Linked DNA regions of Homo sapiens: region 1 is linked to region 2. The links are contacts of gene promoters, found by promoter capture Hi-C in human tissues and cell types (Jung and others, 2019). All regions are on one chromosome and are shown on one strand. The core of a region is centred on a gene start or on the middle of the fragment in contact, and the rest is flanking DNA. Distances in the headings are between cores, read along the strand shown. Region 1 overlaps ZNF131 (zinc finger protein 131). Region 2 holds the start of C5orf34 (chromosome 5 open reading frame 34).

Region 1 (2,700 bases), core at 151-2,650, 370 kb after region 2:
GGAGTGCAGTGGTGCGATCTTGGCTTACTGCAACCTCCGCCTCCCGGATTCAAGCGATTCTCCTGCCTCAGCCTTGTGAAAACTGGGATTACAGGGGCGTGCCACCATGTCCGGCTAATTTTTTGTATTTTTAGTAAAGACGATGTTTCACCATTTTGGCCAGGCTGGTCTCAAACTCCTGACCTCAAGTGATCCACCTGGCTTGGCCTCCCAAAGTGCTGGAATTACAAGCATAAGCCACTGCACCCAGGCCGTAAACTACTTCTTAGCCAGTTTTCTTATGCTTGTCTTAACTATAGGTATGACCTCTGAACTCAGATCCCTATCCCAAACAGGAGTAATTAAAGAACAAGAAAAAGTGCTCCTACCAGGCTTTTGTTTTGCAGAGTGGGATAAGCCAGCCTGTATTCACAACTGAACAGCAAGGAAAGAGATTTTAGAGGCTTATGACGGAATGGACATAAACCTGGCAACTGAGTCTCAGAGGCATAATTTCGAGGTAGTTTTTCAAACCCATCCACAAATGCCTCCTGAAGATGAAAAAAACACATAATCCCTGCCTCAGAGAGGTTGGAGACTATTAGAAAAATGTGGGAACACTAATATGATTATTGTTGTAATGGAAAATGTAAAACATAAAAATACAGAATAATAGAAGTGCCTAAGTCAATCTGCTTGGCTCAGTAAGGAAAAGCTTCAGAGAACAGGTTGTTGGCTCTCACCTGAGACCAGAAAGATGAGTAAAATTTTGCCATGAACAAGCAGACAGATGGCATTCCAAGAAATGAAAAGAACATATGCATAATCATGTTATTATGTGGCAGATATTGTTTTAAGAGCTTTACGTGTACCACTTCCTTAAAACATAAATCTAAGACAGGATAAAATATTTGGAGATTTGATCTGACCCACAGCTCACTTTTCAAATAGCCTTAAACACAAGACATTTGTCAAAAAACAATCAATGGCAACTGTTTATCATTGCAACTACTGTGGTGGCATTACAAGTTTGGGCTATCAAGAAGCTGAACAAAAACTGAAAGGAAAAACTGGAGAATGAGATGTTCATAGGGGGCTTTAAAAAGCTCTGACAGACTGGACGTGATGGCTCATGCCTGTCATCCCAGTACTTTGGGAGGTCAAGGCAGGTGGATCACCTGAGGTCAGGAGTTCAAGACCAGCTTGGCCAACATGGTGAAACTCCGACTCTACCAAAAGTAAAAAAAATTAGTTGGGCGTGGTGGTGAGCGCCTATAATCCCAGCTACTCAGGAGGCTGAGGCAGGAGAATCACTTGAACCTGGCAGGCGGAGGTTGCGGTGAGCCAGGATCGTGCCAACACAAAGCTCTGTCTCCAAAAAAAAAAAAAAAAAAAAAAAAAAAAAAGAAAGAAAGAAAAAAAGGCCAGGCGCCGTGGCTCACGCCTGTAATCCCAGCACTTTGGGAGGCCGAGACAAGTGGATCACGAGGTCAGGAGATCGAGACCATCCTGGCTAACACAGTGAAATCTCGTCCCTACTAAAAATACAAAATATTAGCTGGGCGTGGTGGCGAGTGCCTGTAGTCCCAGCTACTCGGGAGGCTGAGGCAGGAGAATAGCGTGAACCTGGGAGGTGGAGCTTGCAGTGAGCCAAGATCGCACCACTGCATTCCAGTCTTGGGGACAGAGCGAGACTCCGTCTCAAGGAAAAAAAAAAAAAAAAAAAAAAAAAAAAAAAAAAAAAAGCTCTGACAATATTCCAGAGAACCTAGAGGGCCATACACATGCACAGAGCTGTATACATGTCCAGGAAAGACCTTAGCAACTCTCATCTCTATCTGACCTTGAGGTTCTGTTAACACAGGAAGTAAAGGCTAAAGCAGTTGTAAACTGCTTGATGGGACACTGATGGTGTACCCTATAAAGAGCTCCCCAACAAAAATGTGGAGACTTACTGGTTTAAGACTTTTAAGAAAATTTCTGTCCAATGATCAGTTTGTTCAGTAAACTACCTATGCAGACTTCAGTGGCCATACACACAAAATGTAGACTGTACAGAATTACAGGAAAGGGATTACAGAAGTCCAGGAAAGTCACTAAACCAGTAACAACAATAAGAAACGATGTCTGGCTCATCTAAACTAGTTCCAGTGGGATAGGAAATTAAGAAACTTCAAATACAGCGTGTAGTTGAAGATGATAAACTTGCAACAGTGGAGAAGCAGATCACTGCTTTTGAGGACTATGTGCAGTCCATGGATGTGGCTGCTTTCAACAAGATCTAAAATCCATCCTGGATCACTGCACTTAAATAAAAGCTTGAGGCCGGGCGCAGTGACTCGTGCTTGTAATCCCAGCACTTTGGGAGGCAGAGGCGGGCAGATCACAAGGTAAAGAGATGAGACCATCCTGGCCAACATGGTGAAAACCCCATCTCTACTAAAAATACAAAAATTAGCTGGGCGTGGTGGCGTGTGCCTGTAGTCCCAGCTACTCGGGAGATTGAGGCAAAGGAATCGCTTGAACCCGGGAAGCAGAGGTTGCAGTGAGCCGAGATCACGCCACTGCACTCCATCCTGGTAACAGTGAGACTCTGTCTTCAAAAAAAAAAAAAAAAGCTTGAAAGATTAAAAAAAGAAACCATGTCTGGCCAAGTATGGTGGCTTATGCCTGCAATCCCGGCACTTTGAGAGGCTGAGGTGGCCACGTCTCTTGAGCCCA
Region 2 (2,700 bases), core at 129-2,628:
AGAGAAGGTCAAGTGCCGCATTTAACCATGATCTTAGGATGGGCTCCCTGCATGCTCAGAGCCCTCTTTACCCTTGGGAAGTGAGCACACACAGTGATTTTATGGATTTATACACATGCCCATCTGAGGCTTTCTTCCTTTTTCCGGTGGAGTGTATCAGAAAAATCATACTTCATCACTTTTGTCTCTTAACCGGCATGCCCAGGAAGTTGCTTCTCTCTGGGGCCTGCATTCAATTAACATTTTGATGTTAACAGGTGTGGGCCATCAGGAAATGGCCTTTCCCTGGCGCTGCCAAATTTTCATTTTTAGAGAGGCCATGTGATAATTGCTGAACCATCACCCAACATTTCTAGTGGGTGGGTGGCAGGGGAGAGCCCTCTCCTGCCTTGCTCATGCCTAACTACCTGTAACAGATTCAGTTCGCCATTTTATAATGTATGAGCATGATCTGTGGTCCCCCAAAACAATTACAGTAGTGACATCAAAGATCAGTGATCACACAGATCACTCTAACAGATACAAAAATAATGAAAAAGTTTGAAATATTGTGGGAATTACCAAAATATGTCAGAGACACAAAGTGAGCACATGATGTTGGAAAAACATGGCACCCATACACTTGCTCCATCAAGGTTGCCTCAAACCTTCCATTTGTAGTAAACTCAGTATCTGCAAAGCACAATAAAATGCACAATAAAACAAGGTATGCCTCTCTATGCTCTCACAAACCTCTGTATTTTATCTTAGAAACACTCACAACTGTAATAAATGATTGTTTATTCTTTCTTTCCAGTTAATCTCTAGCTCTGATCCTCACCCGCAAAGAACTGGGCCACCTTCCCTGCTTTATCCCCACTATGCCTAAACACACAGTGAGTGTTCCATAAACACTTGTTTAGTGGCAATAAATATAGCAGACACATTTATTTGCCACTTTATAAGGAAAAAAGGTGCAGATACATAGACGACCTATTTTCTGATACCAAATTAGGAAGAGTTCTCCATCTTTGGCCAAGTTTTTTTTTTTCTAAACAGCTTTACTGAAGTATAATCGTTTTTTACCTTATTTAAAAATAAGTACCACTCCACTAAAACGCGCTCTGTGGTTAGTTCTCGGCTGGACCGTTCAAAAGGCTGATCCTTACAGCCTTTATTATTAATACAACCAGGTCGGGACTGCTTTTGCGTGGGTCACCAGAAGTAAAAAATCAAAGAGGAGCCAACCCCATTCCGAACAAGGAAACACCCGTCCCCTTCCTACACCAATTCCTGCTCCGCCCTTCGTAGGGAACGCAGCGAGGGCAGCCTCCGGAGTGGAGGGGCGGGACTTCCGGCCCTTCCTGTTGTGGAGGGGCGGGACTTCCTGTCTTCCCTGTTGCGGAGCTCTGAAGCGGCTCCCTGAGGGCGCTGGTTTTGAACTGGTCTTGTGCGGTTTGCGCTTTCTCTTAGTGGTTACAGTTGGCGCTGTCTCCGCTTTCCTGTTTCGTGGCGGGCATCTTGGCCAAAACACTCTCCCTGCCACCTTATTCCTCTAGGGTTGTGATTTTTTTCTTTCACCAAGAAATATCACTCGCTGGTAATTTGTCAAACTGAAGAAACCCCTGAAGAAGCAGTGGTGGGCAGGCGCCGACGCTGCGGCTTCCAGAGCATTTTGGCAAATCAAAGCCAGGGACCGTTGCTGGGCCTCATTTCCGCAACTTTTCGGCTCCGAACTGCTGTGAGTGGAAGACTTTTGGTGGTTGTTTTGATCAGGCTCCTTCTGTAACTAGAGACTATAGCATTTTGAAAGAAATGAGATTCTCATTCATGTCAAGAACAGACTTGTGGATTTTTGAGTGTTAAACATACCCTGACGTAATGTGCTGGGTGATGAGAACGCAAGCGGGAATGAGACTGTAGAGATGAGAATGGCAGTGTGGGTTGGAGCCGGGTTATGGTTTCCTATGGTATGCCAAGAACCTTAGTCATTACACTGTTTGTTGTGTATGCTTGATTATTTAAAATTAGAAAACCGCCTCAGTAAAGCTATTAAAAAAAAGACCTGACCAAAGATAGACTATTTTTCCCAAATTGGAATCAGAAAATGTCTTCCATCTATGTATCAGCACCCGTTTTTTCCCCTAAAATACCAAGTAGACATACCCGATATATACGTGTGTGTTTATATATATATCTGTAATCTATATTGCCATTTGATAAGTACGTAAACAGGTGATGTAAAGCACTTGGTATGGTGTGACTTGTGGAAAGTTACCTATGTCATCAATACTAGAGATGGATTGGAGAGAGAAGAAATTCCAGACAGTTGCAGGAGTTGGAGAGTCTATGGCCTGAAAAAGAGAAAGAGGTAGAGAGAGTCAGGTTCCAAAGACAGAAAATCAACAGGACTTGTTACAGGGGCATGGAGTGGAAAGTCAAGTTTTAGAATATTGGCTGCTAACAATGAGACACCATTAATTCAAATTGCAAATTCAAGAGGAGCAGTTTACTTATTTTTCATCATTCAAATATTTATTGTGCCATTTACTATTTGCCTAATACTGTTTTAGATGCCAGAGATACTGTTACATATAAGACAGATAAGGCCCCTGCTTCGGTTGACTTTATATCCTAGTGGGAGAAAATAAAAAGCAAGTAAATAATCAATTTTGATGATAGATTCTATGAAGAAAAAACTTGAAGAGGGATGACAAATGA

The links. The method cuts DNA at HindIII sites, captures the fragments that hold promoters and counts their contacts. A contact is called where the count stands out against the background at its distance.
Region 1: a contact is called between a fragment that was not itself captured here and the fragment with the promoter of C5orf34 in region 2, in 1 of the 25 tissues and cell types used here (H1 embryonic stem cells).

What each region holds. Positions count from the first base shown.
Region 1 is chr5:43,142,923-43,145,622 of GRCh38, reverse strand. All of the region lies in intron 4 of ZNF131 (zinc finger protein 131), which reads right to left. Among named protein-coding and RNA genes, the nearest start is that of ZNF131, 23 kb to the right of the region's middle. The HindIII fragment of the contact is 3,467 bases long and covers 1-2,700 here.
Region 2 is chr5:43,513,826-43,516,525 of GRCh38, reverse strand. It overlaps C5orf34 (chromosome 5 open reading frame 34), which reads left to right and starts at 1,378. Exons shown (of 13, transcript NM_198566.4): 1 at 1,378-1,720. LOC124900190 (a long non-coding RNA gene) reads right to left here. Exons shown (of 3, transcript XR_007058764.1): 2 at 1-2,333. RefSeq lists an enhancer at 1,611-1,770. The HindIII fragment of the contact is 12,650 bases long and covers 1-2,700 here.